4 separate regions of the Homo sapiens genome follow, and regions 1, 3 and 4 are each linked to region 2. Evidence: promoter capture Hi-C in human tissues and cell types (Jung and others, 2019). All regions are on one chromosome and are shown on one strand. The core of a region is centred on a gene start or on the middle of the fragment in contact, and the rest is flanking DNA. Distances in the headings are between cores, read along the strand shown. Region 1 has its middle 9.0 kb from the start of FBXO32. Region 2 holds the start of KLHL38 (kelch like family member 38). Region 3 overlaps FBXO32 (F-box protein 32). Region 4 overlaps ANXA13 (annexin A13).

The links. The method cuts DNA at HindIII sites, captures the fragments that hold promoters and counts their contacts. A contact is called where the count stands out against the background at its distance.
Region 1: a contact is called between a fragment that was not itself captured here and the fragment with the promoter of KLHL38 in region 2, in 2 of the 25 tissues and cell types used here (IMR-90 fibroblasts and mesenchymal stem cells).
Region 3: a contact is called between a fragment that was not itself captured here and the fragment with the promoter of KLHL38 in region 2, in 3 of the 25 tissues and cell types used here (bladder, heart left ventricle and heart right ventricle).
Region 4: a fragment that was not itself captured here is called in contact with the fragment with the promoter of KLHL38 in region 2 in 5 of the 25 tissues and cell types used here (H1 embryonic stem cells, adrenal gland, heart right ventricle and 2 more).

Annotation. Positions count from the first base shown.
Region 1 is chr8:123,547,545-123,552,965 of GRCh38, forward strand. No RefSeq gene overlaps it. Among named protein-coding and RNA genes, the nearest start is that of FBXO32, 9.0 kb to the left of the region's middle. The HindIII fragment of the contact is 3,908 bases long and covers 1,825-5,421 here.
Region 2 is chr8:123,650,662-123,655,554 of GRCh38, forward strand. It overlaps KLHL38 (kelch like family member 38), which reads right to left and starts at 3,140. Exons shown (of 4, transcript NM_001081675.3): 1 at 2,925-3,140; 2 at 916-2,266. The coding sequence starts at 2,265. The HindIII fragment of the contact is 9,515 bases long and covers 1-4,893 here.
Region 3 is chr8:123,529,288-123,534,075 of GRCh38, forward strand. FBXO32 (F-box protein 32) reads right to left here. Exons shown (of 9, transcript NM_058229.4): 3 at 3,904-3,953; 4 at 2,611-2,703. Among named protein-coding and RNA genes, the nearest start is that of FBXO32, 9.5 kb to the right of the region's middle. RefSeq lists a silencer at 188-388 and an enhancer at 1,029-1,238. The HindIII fragment of the contact is 5,305 bases long and covers 450-4,788 here.
Region 4 is chr8:123,725,138-123,730,146 of GRCh38, forward strand. All of the region lies in intron 1 of ANXA13 (annexin A13), which reads right to left. The region is part of intron 1 of LOC105375739 (a long non-coding RNA gene); the gene reads left to right. Among named protein-coding and RNA genes, the nearest start is that of ANXA13, 9.8 kb to the right of the region's middle. The HindIII fragment of the contact is 8,461 bases long and covers 1-5,009 here.

The DNA.
Region 1 (5,421 bases), core at 2,529-5,028, 100 kb before region 2:
TATCAATAATCCTTCAAACGGTATCTTGGATGACTGAGTGTCAAATTTTAGTTCTGAGATTTTTCATATGCAAAAATAGCTTGGACTGAAATTTGTCTAGATATGTGTCTGGTGGTTTACTTATATCAACAGTGTTCATATAACTTTGCAAGGTAGATATTTTTATTCCCATTTTACAGATGAAGAGACTGAGGCTCAGATGTGTTAACTTACTCATAGGTCTGCTTAAAAATCTAACAGGAGCTGAGTACAGTGGCTCATGCCTGTAGTCTCAGCGACTTGAGAGGCTGGGGCAGGAAGATCGCTTGACCAACCAGGAGTTTGAGACTAACCTGGGCAACATAGCGAGACTCTGTCTTAAAAACAAAAACAAAATTAAAAAAACCCAGAATAGATCTTAGAGGTGACCTAGTCCAATCCTCCTTTACCCATGAGAAAGCTAAGGCTCACAGAAGAGAGACTCACTGAGGTACACAGAGCTACCTGGTAGCAGCAGAATTGGGCACCATGAGACCAAACCAGCAGGGACAGAATATTCCATTACACTTACTGTTCTGACCAATGTCCCTGAGAAATGTAATTTTGAAGTAAAATTCAAATAATCTGATTTACACATTCCAGTAACTGAATTTTTTCAGGACTTCTCATCTAATGAGTTTAGTCCAAAGAACACAAGAAAAACAATAACAGGTACTTAAGCCCCGAAAGCGATTACTCTTCAAAGTCAACCAGAATCCTAGAGAAACAACAGATTTGAAAATCAGGCACCCTGGAAGTCCTTACCTGACCACCAGATTAAATGCAGATCTGCTGCTGCTTATTCTGGGACACGTTTGTTTCATCACTGCATGTTTTGACTGGTTGACTCTAGTGATTGGAGAAGCGTTTTCTGAGTCATTTAAGTGTGTTTCCTTGTATGAGTCAGCTCTTGATTTGTTGAATTCTGGAGAAGTCATGTAACCTGTTTGGTGTTCTGTTTTCACATTTATACACACACACATTATAAAGATGGTTGTGGTTGTATGGTTCTTATTTTTTTGAGACAGAGTCTTGCTCTGTCACCCAGGCTAGAGAGCAGTGGTGCGATCTTTGTTCACCGCAACCTCTGCCTCCTGGGCTCAAGTGATCTTCCCACCTCAGCCTCCCAAGTAGCTGGGACTACAGGTGTGCACCACCATGTCCAGTTAATTTTTTTTTCTTTTTTTTTTTTTTGTAGAGACAGGGTTTTGCCATGATGCCCAGGCTGGTCTCGAACTCTTCCGCTCAAGCGATCTGCCCAACTGTGCCTCCCAAAGTGCTGGGATTACAGGCGTAAGCCACCATGCCCAGCCATGTTGTATGGATCTTTGACATTATTGATTGAAGGATGATCATTAACAGCAATGACAATTTTTCATAAGGAAATAGAAAAACACAATTCCTCCTATCCTTTTTCTGGGGTGGTTTGTCTATTTCTGCCTGTTGTGTCTACAATTTTTTCACAGAAAGCAAAAGTCTGCAGTTGTAGTCTGCTCAACTTTTCACCTCTCCAGTTTTTTCCAAGTGATACTCCCAGTTCTAGAGCAATCTATAGCTGTTTATATGAGGTGCCCAACACCCACTCATCTCAAGTACTTCAGTCTTTGGTTTATTTCATGCACTGTGCCTTCAAAATTAATATTTTTTTTTGAGACAGAGTCTCGCTCTGTTGCCCACACTGGAGTGCAGTGATGCGGTCTTGGCTCACTGCAACCTCCACCTCCTGGGTGCAAGTGATTCTCCTGCCTCAGCCTCCTGAGTAGCTGGGATTACAGGCATGCATCACCACGCCCAGCAAATTTTTGTATTTTTAGTGGAGATGGGGTTTCACTGCGTTGGCCAGGCTGGTTTTGAACTCCTGATCTCAAGTGATCTGCCTGCCTCGGCCTCTCAAAGTGCTGGGATTACAGGCATGAGCCACCGTGCCTGGCCTCAAAATGAATTTTTTTTTTTTGAGACCAAGTCTTGCCCTGTTGCCCAGGCTGGAGCGCAATGCCATGATCTTGGCTCACTGCAACCTCCGCCTCCCAGGTTCAAGCGATTCTCCTGCCTCAACCTCCCGAGTAGCTGGGATTACAGTTGTGCGCCACCACGCCTAGCTAATTTTTTTGTATCTTTTTTTTTTTTTTTTTTTGAGACAGAGTCTTGCTCTGTCGCCCAGGCTGGAGTGCAGTGGTGCGATCTCGGCTCACTGCAAGTTCCGCCTCCCGGGTTCACGCCATTCTCCTGCCTCAGCCTCCCGAGTAGCTGGGACTATAGGCGCCTGCAACCACGCCCAGCTAATTTTTTGTATTTTTAGTAGAGATGGGGTTTCACCGTGTTAGCCAGGATGGTCTCGATCTCCTGACCTTGTGATCCGCCTGCATCAACCTCCTAAAGTACTGGGTTTACAGGCGTGAGCCACCGTGCCCGGCCAATTTTTTTGTATCTTTAGCAGAGACGGGGTTTCACCATGTTGGCCAGGGTGGTCTCGAATTCCTGACCTCGTGATCCACCCGCCTAGGCCTCCCAAAGTGCTGGGACTACAGGCATGAGCCACGGTACCCAGCAAAAATGAAATTTTTAAAAGGGACTTTATTATTATTTTATTATTATACTTTAAGTTCTGGGATACATGTGCAGAATGTGCAGGTTTGTTACATAGGTATACACGTACCATGGTGGTTTGCTGCACCCATCATCCTGTTATCTACATTAGGTATTTCTCCTAATGCTATCCTTAAAAGGGACTTTAAATGAAGTTGAATAGTAGTTTTTAAAAGTCAATGTGTAATTTATGTGAAATCTAACAGTAATGAGGTCCTTTCTGTTTTTTGTATGTAAACAGATCTACTAATCCTGTATAAAGGTTATTTTATGAAAAAAAAAAACAAAAAAACAAAAAAAAAAACCTGATTCCTGGCACATAGGAGATTTCAGTGTGTGTCAACTGTGGCCCATCAACTGCAAGCCGTCTTACTGCTTCTCTCAGGCGATTCAATAAGAATAAAAAGCAAATGAATCCTTGATTTCTTTTAAATACTGCATTCATTTCAGGAAGAAGAAAGTGATTTAAAAAGAAGTACAGAATGTTCATCTTCTCTTTCATTCCAACTACAGCCTGAGAAGTTCAGTCCCTTAAGGGACATAATATTTTCAACCACGGTTGATAGTAATTTAATAAATAATTTAGTATTTTAAACATCTGCTTTGCTAAAAGTGGTATGCCATAAAACCTCTGCTAATGTCTTGAAACTGTGTATATTTTGAAGAGATGGTGCATGTCTTAGATTTTTTCCCCTCCTCTATCAGCTAAGCAATAGGAATGCCTATCTTTAGTTCTGTTTTAGAGCATTTTTGGGGTGGTAAAATATATTACAAATTATTACTCATTCATTGTCTCAACAGGGATGCATCATGCCATTGCTATGATCCTGGTGCTCTTCTAAAGCAGCTTTGAGAACACAAAGATGAACACTTACCCTTAGCGAGTGTACAGGCTGTAAGGAGAGAGAGAGACATTAATATGTATACCTAAAGCCGAGCCTATGTGCAGTGAAGGGGGTGGAGAAAAGAGGGAGGTAGGGAGGTGGGGGGAGGGGGGGGAGAGAGAGAGAGAGAGAAAGAGATACAGGGCACCATTAGAGCACTTAGGAGGATAAAGCACCTAATCAGCCTGGAATAGTCAGAGGAAGCTTCGTGGAGTTGGTCTCAAACCAGGTCTTAAAGGACGGGTAGGAATTAATCAAGCAAATGGAGGTAAGGATGGGAGTGGGTGGGCATTCCGGGGAGAGGAGACAGTAGGAACAATGGCGGAGAGGAGAGGAGCAGCATATGACATGGTGAAGAATAGGATGTGGAGCAGGGCATGAGGATAGCTGGTGATGGGGAAATAGGCCAGGGTGAGATTGCAGAGGGCTCCATGTGCCTTACTGGAAAGCCTGGGCTTTGTCTGAAATGATGGGAGCCATGGAAGAGCTGTAAGCAGGAGACCACCAATGGGCAGATAGTGCTGTAGGGAGATTCTCTTGCCGAGTAGAGAGATGGATAGAAGAAATACGTGACAGGGGGCAAGAGACCAGTTAGGAGGATGTGGCTGTTTCCAGGCAACAGTTGATGAGCAGCAGAACTGGGAGTGCCATGGAGAGCTGGGACAGACTCATGCCACACCTAAGAGGCAAACACTGCAGGACACCCTGAATGCCTCCTTGCAAGGGATGAGGAAAGGGAAGTGCCAAGCAGGGCCTTTCAAGATTCTGGTTTAGGTACATCATTCTGAGCAAACTATTGCGAGGACAAAAAACCAAACACCGCATGTTCTCACTCATAGGTGGGAATTGAACAATGAGAACACTTAGACACAGGAAGGGGAACATCACACCCCAGGGCCTGTCATGGGGTGGGGGAAGGGGGGAGGGATAGCATTAGGAGATATACCTAATGTAAATGACGAGTTGATGGGTGCAGCACATCAACATGGCACATATATACATATGTAACAAACCTGCACATTGTGCACATGTACCCTAGAACTTAAAGTGTAATAAAAAAATAAAGCAAACAAAAAAGAAAAAAATAAGATTCTGGTTTAGGTAAAAGAAGAAATAAATGGTTGAGTGGAAGCTTGAGGACTGCAGTCTCATTGTTCTGAGAGAGACTTCACTTTCACTGACTTTCGGGCAGAGAACAGAACAAATTCTGTGCTTCCTCTGCCCCTGGGGAGATTGCCTGTGTTGCTGGAAGGACTTCTTCCTAATTGCCCAGACCTGCCCAGAAGAAGAGGCAGGAACTGTATTTGGAACAACATTCAGAAGGGATCTGTTCTTGTTACCTTCACCTTTCTGACCCATCTTGAATAAGATGGTCTTTCTCTGCCAGTGGTTACAGCACTCCTGTACATGTTCCATTTTCAAATGCCTTAAAAATGTTATGAATATATATATCGTGCTAGTTCTCTCTATAAAGTAGTTATAATAAACTTTATTTCAACCAAACAAACAAATAATGAAATTACCTAAAATCAGTAAGTCAATGAATTCATGGTAAAAATTTATCTTATTTTTTTTGCCATCTGGTTAGAACCCATTTTCTGCTAGCCCCCTCATTTTTAGGGGATACTTCACTGTGTGCAGCCTTGGTGGGAGGTCATGCTCACTTCCAAAAACGGGACCTAAAAAGACCTGATCTTTTCACTCTCTGCTGTGGTCCAGCCAGGGTCAGGTATGTGACTTAAAGGTTTGGCGAATGACACATTCTTCTGGGGGAGTGAAGGAAGGAGGTTGGGGGTTCTCTGTTGGGAGGGCATTCCTGCCAGCATCAGTGAGGGGTGTTGGCCACAAATGGTTCCTGTTGTGGGGGCTTTGCTGTGGTTCCTGCTGCCTGGTCCTCCAGAGCTTTCTCAATTCCTGCATTTTTCAAGTCTGT
Region 2 (4,893 bases), core at 1,890-4,389:
ATATTCTGAAATGTGGCCTTTATTGAGCATACTTCTCAGACAGCTTGTTAGTGAAATTAATGTCTGCCGATCATTAAAAGTAGGGGTTTCCCAACCTGGCTGCAACTTAGAGTCTCCTGGGGACTTTTGTAAACCATACATTTTAGGATCTCACACAAAGATATTTTGATTCAGTGATGTGAGGTCAGGTTCCAGGGGATTTGGTCACAGAGGTGTGGACCAAGGCTTGGGAATCTTCTTTTAAGGCCTTACTGACTTGAGTTAGAAGCACCTGCCAAATTCCTATGGGACTTCACTATCTGACTTTCAATATGCTGTATAATAACTTGAATTTTTAGATATATATTTTTCTCATCAAATGAAGATAAACTCTGTGCATAGGGATGGTATTTGATATCCTTTGTTATGTATTATTTTTGCACAAAAAAATTCATAAATTGAAAAATATCTTGCTGAAAATCCTTCTTCCCTCCCTCCCTTCCTCTCTTCCTTCCTTGCAAATAACAAGTGTTGGTATGTGTGTACATGGGTGCACATGTGTGTGCATGTATGCATGTACGTATTTGTGTTCGTGCATATGTATAAATGTGTGCATGCATGTGTAGATATATGTAAATGTGTGTATGCATGCATGAATTGTATATGTGTATGCATGTGCACACGTATGCATGTTGGCATCTGCATATATGTGTGCATATGTGTATGCATGTATGCATGAATATACATTTCTGCATATATGTGTGCACGCATGTATGCATATGTGTGTTTGTGTATATGTGTGCATATATATATTTATGTGCATATATGTGTTTTTTGGTGTGTATGTATACATGTGCATGTGTGTGCAAGCAGGTGTGGGTGTGTCCAAGCACACATACTCATGCAGTTACGTGATGGGAAGAACCGGCCATTTACCTGGATAAGGCGCACAGGGTTCTGCATGATGTCCTCTCCTCCAAAGAGATAGAGTCTTTGGTCTTTCACAGCGACTGCGGGGTGGAGCACCCCCACGGGCATGCTGGCCATACTCTCCCAGACATTGCAGATGCTGTCATACCTTTCCATGGAGCCCATGAGCTCCTGCCCTTCTCCAATCCCCCCGATGGAGAAGATGAAGTTCTTATGGGCAGTGCTTCTGTGGGAGTAGCGGGCCACCAGCATGGGCTCCCCCAGCCTCCACTGATTGAGTTTCAGGGAGAAGATGTAGACATTGTGACTGACCAGACTCCTCCCTGAGCTGACAGCCATGCCCCCCAGCACATAGATGCTGCGGTGCAAGGTGATGGCAGAGGCCTTGTACAGCCGTGTCGGGAGTTTGGCAAGGCTCTGCCATTGGCCGGTCTGTTTGCTGTACAGTAGGACGTCCCTGGTGGTCTGCTGGCTGTCCTTCCTTCCGCCCAAGAGGATGAGGAAATCTTGGTAAGAGTTTCTTGGAGGGACATGCAACAGGAGTTTGCAGTCTGGGACGGTGGTGCCACACAAAGAGAACATCTGTCTCTTGGCGGTCTCCAAGATGATCTGGCATGCAGGCGAGGACTGCAGGAGGGCATCGTTGGCGATGAAGTGGTGAAAGAAGGCTGGGTGGATGTACTGCAGCCTGACCTGCTTGAACAGTTCCTGCATGTATCGCTTCCGGGCCTGGAGGTCATGCTTGATCCAAACCATGAGGGCCTCAAACACCTTTTCCTCCTCCCCACAGAGCCCATCATCTCCGAGATAGTCCCTCAACTCCAAGGCACAGAGCTCCTTCAGGTCGGCCGATGCGGCCACCTCTGGGAAGGACGTCAGTGCCACCTCCCTGGCTTTCTTCTTGAGGGTCTCGCAGCTTAAGATTTCTGAGAGTCTGATCATACCCAGGCAGTTGCTGGGGGCCAACTGGCTCTGCAAGTACGAGGAGCAGGCCTCAAACAGCTTGGGGAACTGTAGCATGGAGGCGGCCTCCATCACGGGGAGGACATTGTCAGTGGCAATATGTGCCTCCCCCGTATACACGTAGGAGACGATCTGGTCCAGGGTTGGGGGGTCAATGCCTTTCAGCTGCACTTTGGCTTCACTCTTCTCCCGGAAGCTGCTGCAGAACATAGCCCTGAAGTAGGGGCTGCTGGAGGCCAGCACGTTGCGGTGGCAGGGGATCTCCCGGGCACCGGCACAGATGCTCACATCAGTCAGGATCCTGCTTTGCCTTAAGCTGTTGAGCTGCCTCAACAAGTCAGAAGAGAAGTCGTGGTCTTTGAAGAGCAGCCCATCTAGTGACTCCTCGTCCATCCTACAAAGAGGGAAGGAAGCCCCCAGAGTCAGCAAGAGTCAAACCTTTCTCAGCTGCATGTGCTGGAGGGTTCAGCTGTGGGGACTCCAAGACCAGTGCTCCTATTCCATTCCCCATGATGTTTGCGGATGTCACCATGGATATTGTGTAGGGAAGATTGGAAAGGAAGGCCACATACATCTCAGACCTGAGCCCTTTTGGGTTATGGTTATTTTCAAAAGTAATAGGCAAATAGTATCTTCAGCTAATCTGAGAGAAACAACCAAACAAACAAACTAAAGTTGTTGGAAGTTACTCTGTTATCAGAAGCTGAAATGTTAGTCTGAAGCAAGATAACAGTCCATGGATTTGACCAGCAGAAGTTCATGAGCCTTTTTCCAGATCGATGGCATATCTGTTATTGAGTAACAGATGTCTAAACCTCTCTTTCTGGGTGTCAATCATTCCCCAAGGATGATATTCTGGAGGTGTGGCCCTCTGGTCACTGGACAGAAATGAGGGAAGAAAATGGACCTTTGATGCATATATTTAAATATGACTTCATTGAGTCTTGTTTTAAAGATAGAATAAATAAAAGGAAAGACCAAACAATCCCCTGGTTTATTGGATGACACCTGGTTTTCTACTTGCAGAAGAAATAAGTATGAGGGACACTTACCTTGTTTTGCTGCGGTGACATCCACTGGTGCCTGGTCTGACTTATCCCCCCGGAGAGTTTCTACCTCTAGCTCCAAGGGAAACCATAAACCCCAGGCCTTTCTTTCAGTTGGCAAATGATTTGTCCTGGGAGATTTCTGGATTTGTTTATGCTGAAGGCACTTTCATAGTTTTCTAGAGCTTTGTGCAAGGACTGCTGGGCAGGGAGACAGTGTATACATTCCAGGGCTAAGAATAGTTGCATATGTACTTTCCACTGTTATGACATGTGACTTTCCAGTTGCCTTTTGCAGCAACCCGAGGGCCTGCAGGGCCGGCGCATGCCCACATGCCTCGTTTCCTTGGCAAGTGTTTACATCGGCAAAAATAGATCGGGAGGAGCGGCTTCTCTTAGAGAAGACTTTGCTGTCTGCTTGGAACCATCCCGAGTCCCCTGTCCTAAAAGTGCTTGGGAATTCTAGCCGTCTGTAAACAGGTTGCTGTGACCTGTGGAGAGTCACTGAAGATGGTTCTGGGCCACAGTGGAGGTGGCAGGTGGTCACAAGGGAAGCCGGAACATGAGCCTGTGGGTGCTATTCAATGGATCTCTATTTCCCACCATCTGCCTGGCGGGATCGCTGGGGAGAGCTGTGATTTCCTCCTCCAGGATCCTAGGTGATGAAATCCATGACAAAAGTTGTTGTTTTTTGTTGTTGTTGTTGTTGAGCATCCCAGGGTTTCCAGACTCCTGAAGGCCCAAACCTTTGTCAGGTCTCCTTACTCAGGAACCTCTGATTGACAGTGGTAAGGCCGAGCTCCTCCTGTCGCGTCTGCCTCTCCCAGACACGTGCTGATTGCTCTTCAGCTGGCTTTTTATAGTTCAGACTTCCTTTTCTGTCTTACTTTTCCATTTTGTCTTGTCTGGCAGCTTGAGCTAGAGGCAGGAGGCAAGGCATATTGCTTTAGGGAGAGAGAGAAAGAAGATGAAGGAGGATGAGGAGGAAGAAGAAGCAGGGACAGAGGGAGGGAGAGAGACGAGAGGAGGAAGAAGAGGAGGAGGAATAGGAGGAGGAGGAAAAGAAGCAGGAGGTAGAGAATCGGGGGAGGAATGATGATAGTGATGTGGTAGGAGGCAGCTTTCAATAACAATCAGAATCACGAGAGAGAGTGAGGGGGACCTCAGGTCTGTTCTGCCCCTGCCTTCAGGGAGGTCCATGATTGTCTTAGCCACAAAAGGCAGGGAAGCCTGACTTTGTCTCCTACTCAACGTCTTGCTCAACTAGTGCAATGGTCTTCCATGCATTTTTTTTTCTTTGCTCCTAGTACTTCTCTCTCCAATACATCCACCCTGTCTTCTCTGGAGCAGCCCCTGGGAAGGCAACTCAGAATTTGCCAGTCCCCAGCATCAGGCCCTTCAGTGGCTCCCCATGTCTGCAGGACTCCTTAGCCAGAATCGGACTGGTGTCCTGTCTGCTTCTGGAACCATGTCTACTGCCACTCATGTGTGGTAATCTAGCTCCATGAGACACTTACAGATCCTTGTATGCATCTGGTCACTGTTGGGGAAGCTGGGCTGGCCTGGCCTTTGGGACACCACAGGGCAGGGTGGAAGGAAGAGGGTTTCTCATTCACAGTTGCCGATCGTAGAGTGGATTATGCCCAAAAGAGTCCAGAAGGTCAAGGCCAGGGAAATGGATCCAAAACATGTTACTGGGGCCATGGGCCTGGAGGCCAGAATTAGGAGCAGGAGGCCTAAGCTAAGGGGGTCAGAGACCCATGGAGGCACAAGCAGGGAGCAGGTGAGAGGAGCTGTTCCTCCATATGTCCGAGTTGGTGAGCTGTGCTGGTGACATAATAAGTGAGTAGCCACATTCCTGAAAGAGCCCAGGGATCCTCTGATTCGTACTCTATCCCTTTCTATGAGCTCTTCCCCTCTGCTCACTCTATCATTTTCACTGTTTCTGTTCGTCTTCCAAAACTTGGTTTATGTA
Region 3 (4,788 bases), core at 1,852-4,351, 120 kb before region 2:
CAATTGCCAGATTCACCAATTAGTTTTTTAAAAGTAGAAAACATTTTAATCAACTCAACTGAAAAGCGTTTTAGGGGGAAATCAATAATTTTGGTAAGTGGGTAACAGTAAACATTAGCGGCTGACTTTGCACAGCAGATAGATTCTAGTGTCCAAAGTACTTCTGTTTATATCACTGAGTTTCCCCAGCTACCCCGGGAAGTTGAGGTAAGTCATTCTTACAGAGGAGGAAACCATGTCTTAGGGAGGTTGAGACAGTTTGAAATCAGTGGAGCTAGGACCTGCCCTCAGGCTATTTTACTTCAGCTCCTCTGCTCACAGATAACTCATGGTAGCAGTTAAAAGTGTAGACTCTGACTGCCCAGATTTCAAGTCTTGATTTCATCCCTCTGTGATCATGGACAAGTCATTTTATCTTACTGTACTGCCATTTGTTTAAAGAGAGATAATAAAAGCACCCATATTTTAAAGGGTTATTGAAAAGATAAAAGGTGAAAATGAACATATTGATGAAATAGATTTTCACTATCATGATGCTTGTTCCTTGCTTTATTTCTTGTAAAAGGAAAAGCAGGTAGAAAGGAAGACCATCTAAAAACTGACCATTTTGAAGATCAGTTTGTAATAAGACATCAGATCTAAGTGTCTTCCTCTAATACCTAGAAGATGGAAACTATTTGGATTCTTAGCAATGGAAGTTTCCAGATCATCCTGGGCCCATTTCCAACCAGCCTAGACTAGTCTGTGGGCCCTAGGAGGACTAGGTGACCTCCGTGAACTTGCAGAGTCACACTGAATGGCATGAACATTTCACCCAAGAAGGTCTCTTATTTTTATCCCTTTTGGATTGGAAGAAGAGCTTAGCCGAAGAGTGAATAGATCTGCTCATGTGGTCACAGGCTCAGCTCACAGCTCCTAACCTGCTTCTTGCAGGCCTGCGTTTTTATCAGGTCACTTTGGACAGCCAAGCCTGCATCTGCCCAGATGACAGGTGAAGGATCCAGGCCTCAAGGGGCCTTGAATGTCATCACCCTGGCTGAGCCTCTGCAATCATCTGACTCAGTGACATGGCACCGAGAAGCACAACAACCCAGGAAAAAGAAAATAAAAACCAAACCAACCACACCCACAGGGGGAAAATTCCCTCCTACTTCTAAGCCTAAAACCCAAACAGCTGCTACCTCCCAGGTTGACTGCTGACAAAAATACACAAGGGAGCTTTGGAGGGCAGGCAGGGAGAACAAAATAATAAACCAATTAGAAATAATAATGTGACAGTCATGGTTAAGCTGATTTGCTTTACTACCTTCATCATTAATATTTTGCTCATTAACTTTTTCTTTTTTGAGACAGAGTCTCGCACTGTCGCCCAGGCTGGAGTGCAATGGCGCCATCTCGCTCACTGCAACCTCCGCCTCCTGGATTCAAGCGATTCTCCTGCCTCAGCCTCCCGAGTAGCTGGGATTACAGGCGCCCACCACCACACCTGGATAATTTTTTTTTGTATTTTTAGTAGAGACGGGGTTTCACTATGTTGGCCAGGCTGGGCTCGAACTCCTGACCTCATGATCTGCTTGTCTTAGCCTCCCAAAGTGCTGGGATTACAGGCGTGAGCCAATGCACCCAGCCTTTTTTTTTTTTTCTCAAAATACGGTTTAAAATGGAAAGCAACAGATCCAGTCAGATTTTTTTTTTTTTTTTTTTTTTTTTACATGGAGTCTCACTCCTGTTGCCCAGGCTGGAGTGCAATGGCGCAATCTCAGCTCACTGCAATGTCTGCCTCCCGGGTTCAAGCGATTCTCCTGCCTCAGCCTCCCAAGTAGCTGGGATTACAGGCACCCGCCACCACGCCTGGCTAATTTTCTTGTATTTTTAGTAGAGACAGGATTTCATCATGTTGTCCAGGCTGGTCTCAAACTCCTGACCTCAGGTGATCCGCCCGCTTTGGCCTCCCAAAGTGCTGGGATTACAGGTGTGAGCCACCGCACCCGGCCAAAACAGGCAGTTTTAAGCTTTAGGTGGACATGGGACTGAATACTGTTATCACATGGGGGTGGAAGGGAACCACAGGCACAAAACACGGAGGTGCTTTAATTCATCCAGTTTTGTGGCCTCATCTGAGAATGCCTTGGGGGTCCCCCAGAGTCAGCTGAAGTAGGACAAGAGGGAGACAGTGAGAACAGTCAGAGATACAGGGTTTTGAAACAGTCCAAAGTGCTTTAGGGCTTGCTTCCTGCTGAATTCTCTCTTGCTAAGGCTGTTGCCAGGGCCAGCGTTGCCTGTGACATGTTCCCACGTATCCACAGGGTGGGCTCGGAAGGGGCCTGGTGTGAAATTTCACTTGAAGAGAATGGCTCTTTAACCGACTCACTGGGGTATTATGGCGGCCCCTGCCCATCCTGGCCAATCTCAGGGACATCCTAGTAGGACTCACTTAAGAACTTGAAGTACGTTGGGGAAGAAGGAGATTGAGGGGTCTGTTTTCTGCTTGCCTCAAAATTCTTAGGGTCCTAAAAAGTAATTTTTTGGGGAAACTACTTCAAGACAACCCAAAGAGATGATTCAACTTGGGAAAGAGCCTGGATGAGCCTTTAGGCACTTGAGACTTACCCGGACCACGTAGTTAAATCTTCTGGAATCCAGAATGGCAGTTGAGAAGTCCAGTCTGTTGAAAGCTTCCCCCAGGGTGCAATATCCATGGCGCTGAACATGAAAACAAAGGCACAGAAGTTACTCCTGCCATGCAGAGGTCACCCAAGTAAGAATGAGCCAGTTAGAACAACCCAACTGGATTTTGCCGAATGAGCTTGATGCCTGTCTTAGGTGACCTGGGGCACTGGCTTCTTTCCTGTACCCACAAGCCCTTGAGAGCCACCAAGATGGGTAACACAGCCAGCAGCTGCCTCAGTCAGCCCCTCACATGTCAAACACCCCCTTTTCGTGACTTGTACCATTTGGGACCTTGCTTATAATTTTTCCACATATTAGTCTGGAAAAATCATAAGTAATTGCTTATTAAGGAAAGACTGGGAGCAGGGTACGGGACATGGGAGGCCATGATGGTTGGTGACTGTAACGTACTCCTGGGAGGAGAATTAGACCTACCTGCACCAACTGTGTCACCACCTTGCCTTATACCAATAGTGCTTTTCTCACTGTGATCATCAGAAGTGTTTATAAGGTTTTGGGAGGAAGCAAAAGTTTTGATCTTTTAACCTATGAACACAGAGGGAATTGGGAGTATAAAGTCCCAGCTCTGCTCTGAGTATCTGGGTGGTCTTGGGAATATCAGTGACCCCCCTCTGGACCTCAAATCACAGAGGGGACTAGATGTTCACTGAGGTCCCTGACGGTCATAGAAATTCTTTCATATTGCCTGTATCCTAGTTATTTTAGCAAATGCCTGTGCAGAGAGAAAATATACATAAAAGGGCTTTATAAAGTACCATACAAATGTAGTTATTACAATGTCTTGTCCCCTCCCACATCACACTGAGCAGGCACTGAAAACTTCTACTATATTTAGTGATTAGCGCTTCCAGGACTGAAATTTAACTGAGTTGAAGTCCAAAGAGATCTTAGAACAAAAGGGAGACCTTGCCCTGAGGCAAAACCCAGGGCAATATAATAATATGGTTGAGATGGGCATGTCAATCTTTATAAAGCACTTTTACATACATAATCTCATTGAACGACTAGAGGGTCCACCTAGTGACTTTTGCTTCTTTCTCTCTCTGTTCTAAACTCTGATGGTTGGCTAAATAATAGACTAATAGCTGCCATCTCCCACATCCAAGAAGACTCTCATGATCCGAAGTAATTTCCCTCCCTACCATATCCCTCCCTGCGCTATCAGGAAGGGATAAGGTTCAGTATAACTTAGTAAATGAATGGGATGCTCACCTCTTTAGTACTTCCTTTGTGAACATAGATCCATTTTTCTTGGTGGAAATCTACAGAGACAAAAAGAATACACAGCTTTAACATCTGCAACATGCTCAAGATTTAAGACATTTCATTTCATTTATTCCAAAGTTTTAAAAGTTTTGACAAAAAAGATAAGGAGTCTACTGACAACTGAAGAAGTTTCAAGTGCTTAATTTCTGCAGTGTAGAAATACTGGGGCTATAAGTTGCTTTGTCTGAAGCACTCTAAATCTTTGAGAGCCAGATTTCATATACCAAAGCTCCAAACTACTATATTTTTTTTTCTAAAGCATTATGCCATAAGAAATTACAGGCCAGATGCAGTGGCTCATGCCTGAAATCCCAGCACTGTGGGAGGTTGAGGCAGGCGGATCACTAGAGGTCAGGAGTTCGAGACCAGCCTGGCCAACATGGTGAAACCCCGTCTCTTCTAAAAATTCAAAAATTAGCCAGGCGTGGTGGCAGGCACCTGTAATCCCAGCTACTTGGGAGGCTGAGGTAGGAGAATCACTTGAACCCGGGAGGCAGAGGTTGCAGTGAGCCAAGATTGTGCCACTGCACTCCAGCCTGGGCGACAGAGCGAGACTCCGTCCCCCCGCAAAAATGAAATTAGGCTTTGACAGACTGAGTTACATGCTGTGAACAGAGCGGGGTAGATCGCTTGAGCCCTGGAGTTTGAGACCAGCCTGGGCAACATGGCGAAACCCTGTCTCTACTAAAAACACAAAAATTAGCCGGGTATGGTGGCAGGTGCTTGTAATCCCAGCTACTCAGGAGGCTGAGGCACGAGAATCACTTAAACCCAAGAGGCGGAGGTTGCAGTGAGCTAAGATCATGCCACTGACTCCAGCCTGGGTGAGAG
Region 4 (5,009 bases), core at 89-2,588, 73 kb after region 2:
AACTGACATTAATTTTCCATTTATGGTATCAGTATAAAATTTCCTTTTAAGATTAATTTATATTAAAAAGTGCGTATTTAAAAATAATTAATAGAATAATTAGTAGAAGAGGTAACCCATATATTTGGCAACAATCATGAAGGTTGTACTTAAATCTGAAGTTTGGGAGACATTGAATGTATCCAATCCCATCATTTACAAATAAAGAAACTGAAGCCTGGTTGTTAAGTCACCTGCTCAGGGTCACCTTATGGAAACATCCATCTCCTATCTCTCTCAGAACAATGTTCTTTTACCTCTAACCGGTTACTCATTTGCACTTTGAAGCCAGTTAGTATGAATGCAAATTATTGTACTTTTAACATTCATGAATTCAGAGCCAGAAAATATCCTGGTGACATTTCCACAGACATGGTTAGTAGAGATTGATGAGCAATTTGAAACAAAATAGAGGGGCCATTCACATCTGAAGCATGAATCTTGGGTGATTAGTGACATATTGGTTTCATTAAGTCATAAAACTACCCAACAGAAAAAAATATATTTGGCAGTATACCCTGTTGGGTATATTTAAGCACAGTTTGAATACGAATATTTGGTATTTCATCATGTAGTTATTGCTGTTTTCATTAGGATTCTCCAGGATCTCACACCGACTAAAAGCAAGCCAATTCCTTCATGCCTAGAACCTCTTCCCACATTAGAAGTTTATTAATCTGCGGGGGTTGATCAGAGAGCTGTTGGGAAAGTGTGTTAGGAAACTTGAGCTCTGCCCACCTTAGTAGGGTGCTGGAATGTTACAGAGTTGTTCATTGCTGTTGATACCTCCTTTCCAAGATGCAGTATTACAGTGACTTACATGATGACTAAGTGTTTGGCTATCACTCTAAAGGGGCAGAAATATTTGTATCATTTAACAACTAAAACTAAAACTAGAAAAACATCCATTTGGATCACAGCTCAACATGATTTGCTTGCATATGTTGACTGTATGTTCTGAAAAATGAGTTCAGTTCTTTAGATTAAAACATGACCTTTCTATTACATTTGGGATTGCTTCCATGTTGGCATTTCAGCACCTTTTAATGAAGATTGGTATAGTTAGGTCATTTTCCAGAAAGACAAGCTTCCTTAGGCTATGCCATCTGGGTTACACGTGTTGATGTGATATTTACTTATCAAAGGTGACTGCAGGGCTGGGTAGGAGTTAGGAGACCTGACTTGAAGGCCCTTCAATATGCTGTGCCTTAAACTGGTGGGCACCATTGTACCTGAAGGTACTGATGGTATCCTCAGGAGTGTAAACAATGTGGGCATCCTGCCATGCACTGAGCTGTGGTATAGGGAGTCCAAGTGGGGTAGCCCTTTTGGGGGCTACACCCAAACAGAGGAGAGGTGAGCCAATCAGCTCCTGAAGGTTCCAGCCTGTGTCTTTCCAGGGGAGCACTGCTCATCTAGGCAGGAAATCCAGCAGCCCAGCAGCCTTTTTACTGAGGGTTTCTGCAGTGAAACCCTTCTCACTCTGGTATAAGAACTACTATTTGATCCAGCAATCTCACTACTGGGTATCTACCTAGAGGAAAAGGAGTCATTATATGAAAAAGATACTTGCACATGCATATTAATAGCAGCACAATTTGCGATTGTAAAAGTGTGGAACCAACCCAAATGCCCATCAATCAATGAGTGGATAAAGAAGCTGTGGTATATATATACAATAGACTACTACTCATCCATAAAAAGGAATGAATTAATGGCATTTGCAGCAACCTGGATGGGATCGGAGAATACTATTCTAAGTGAAGTAACTCAGGAACAGAAAACCAAACATCATATGTTCTCACTCATAAGTGGGAGCTAAGCTATGAGGACGGAAAGGCATAAGAATGATACAATGGATTTTTGGGACTTGGGGGAAAGGGTGGGAGAGGGTAAGGAATAAAAAACTACAAATAGGGTTCAGTGTATACTGCTCGGGTGATGGGTGCACCAAAATCTCACAAATGACCACTGAAGAACTTACTCATGTAACCAAATACCACCTGTTCCCCCAAAACCTACAGAAATAAAGAATTTTTAAAAAAGAAGAAGTTGTTACTCATGGGCTAACAGTTTTGAGAAAAACTGCTGCCTCTTGGCTGCTGCTGTCATCAACAGGAGGATAAGGGTCAATCTTCAGGAGAAGCTGACTTTTCTCTGTTATAAGAGAAGAAATCAGTGTAGGGACATGCCTGGGCCAGAAGGGCAGGAATGGTGATTTCTGGTGGAGATCCAGTGACATAAAGACATTCTGAGGACATCTGCCCTGGAGCCTTGTTTTCCCATTTAAGCGGTGGTTCTCAATAAACCAGGAGCGATTTTTGTCTCCCAGGAGACAATTGGCAATGTCTGGAGACATTTTCAGTTGGCACGAGTAGGGGAGTATTACTGGAATATCTAGTGATAGAGGCCAGGATTCTGCTAAACATCCTTCAGTAATGCACAGAACAGACAGCCCCCCTCCCCCCGCCCACACACACACAAATAATTACCTGGTCCCAAATGTCAGCAGTGCCAAGGACGAATGTGCCAAGGGTCCACAACCCTGGCTGAATGGTTGTAACGATTCTGTCAACGGGTCTCTTTAAAAAGTGTGGAGAAGGCCAAGCCTCTGGTGGTAAACGGCACACAGGTGCTGACTAAAGCAAGGCCTCCAGTCACCAAGGGCAAATTGCTGTGGTAACTTAAAAGGGAAGAATAGAAATGGACCATGATGTCTTACATTCTTTAATTTTTTTGCAAAGAAACCCAGATGACAAATCTGAAAGATGAGTGCTGAGATAAGGTAACTAGGAGGAAGGTGTGAGCTGAGATCAGTTCAAAGTGAGAAACCTGTTGTCACCTCCTGCTTCTTTGTCTGCATCAAGATTGTTGTGAACATCCCAGCCTATACCGGCAGGGCAACGTGCCCAAGTGACATCTCTCTGTTGACTCATTCTTAGGGGCCCTTGAGTGCTGTGTTGGGCTGGAGAACTTGGAGTTTCTAGTAGAGGCAGAATAACATTCATTATGTGGAAACAAGATTTTGTGTCCTGGGGAAAATGACTGTCTGCTTTGAGGTTGTCCACAGATTGTTTGGGGAGTTGGAGACCTCTGAAGAGTGCTAAACTTCCAGATATCCAATTACCACTGTATTGCATCAACAAAAGAGAACTTGGAGGATAAAGTGGTTGTGTGGAGATGATGGATATTTCTCAACCGTGAAAGGAACCATGCTTTCAGGAGTTATGAAAAATGAAGCACGTTTCTCATTAGAAAAGAATGATCCATTTCCTTCTTATATTGCCAAAGGTCGTCTTTTGCCAATTCAATGAGAGTATGAACATGGGATTCATTACTTGCAGGAAAAAAGGTAGCAAGTGTACTCTGGAATCCTCAAGAGTCAATGATAAGTGGGCAGATGGAATTGAAAAGTGAGAATATTGGGGGCTGAGCGGGGCCTTCATGGCATCAAATGTGCTGTGTAGCAGGATGCAGTCAACAGTATGTGGACAAGTTCTGATTTGCTGAAAAGGAAACAAGGTAAAATAGCTAAATTTGCTTTGAGCAAATTTCTGTCTCAATCAGTATCAAAACAATGAATGTTATTCTTTCCCTTGGTAGAAGAGTTTATGCATTGGATCCAAAAAAATTAATTCTTTTAGTTAATTAATTAATTTTTAGTCTATTATTTCTTTAAAATTATCTTTAACATTTTATCTTCCTTTTCATTCCTACTACAACCATCCAAGTCCCCATTATTTGGAAAGAGAATTATTTTCTCCCTTTCTATCTGATTTTCAAGTTTGCATCCTCCTTCTATTTCAGTCCATCTAGTAGTATTAGTATCAGTAGTGGTAGTAGTAATAGCAGTAGTATATTAATAAATATAATAGTTATAAGAAAGCGGTGATGATAAAGATAAGGCCAACCTTACTTACTATGATTATTCACAGGGTAGGTCCATGACCCAAGCCAACTGGAATTCTTCCCTGACATCTTACAGATACTTAGAGAAAGAAGAGATTTTCCTTGAGGCTGCTAATCTGGAGCTATGTGAGGCCATGGAGTTCTCTTGGTGCCTGAACTATCTATGGCCATGCCTCCCTCTCACCAGCCCCTTTTGCTTCCCATACGAGGAAAACAAAAAGCTTATTTTCAGTAGGAGAGAAAGAGGCCAACACATAGAAAGAAGAGAGAGAGAACTGAGAAGATGATTTGTTCAGCCTCAGGGATGAATTATGATTCAAGGCTCTCCTCTTCCTCTTTGCCAGTCTTGGGTTGGGCTTTTGACCAGTTCTGGCCAGTGAGATAGAAAGGGATGTCTGCTGCTTGGAGCTTTGCAGAAAGATTTTCCTCCCTGATAGGGGAGATGTACATAAGCAAGAAGGTATTTTTTCCCTCTATCTGCTTCCTTCTTGCTTGTGACTATCTTGAGAGATCATTAACTTGAACACATGACAGTTATCTTGCACCTAGGTGGGGAGACATTGCTAATACATCCAGAGTATGTCTGACAGAAAGGCAGACATAGCTTGGGTCCCTAATGATGTACTGAACTGCTGAACCAACACTGGAATCAGCTTAATTCAGAGCTCCTGTTAGAATTGACAATTAAATGTCTTTGTTATTTAAGCCAAAGTGAGTCCTGTGGTGTGCTACTTTCGATCAAACACATACTAATTGTCCAACAAACAAACAAAAACAACTGTGAACTCATACTTCGCAAAGATATCTCAAACTCTATAGATCCCCAAACCAAATTCAATCTGTCACTGCCTTACATCCCTGGGATGTGCCACCATCCACCTGTGCACACAAACTAGACAAGACACCTGGAGTCACTCTGTCGTCTTCCTTTCCCTCACCTCCCACATCCACTTAGCAAGTTATGTTCGTTTGACTCAGATCTACCTTCTCCCCAGTTCCATTGTTGCTATTTTAGCCGATGAGGGTGGAGGGTGGCAGAGGGTCTTCATTTCTCTCCAGGG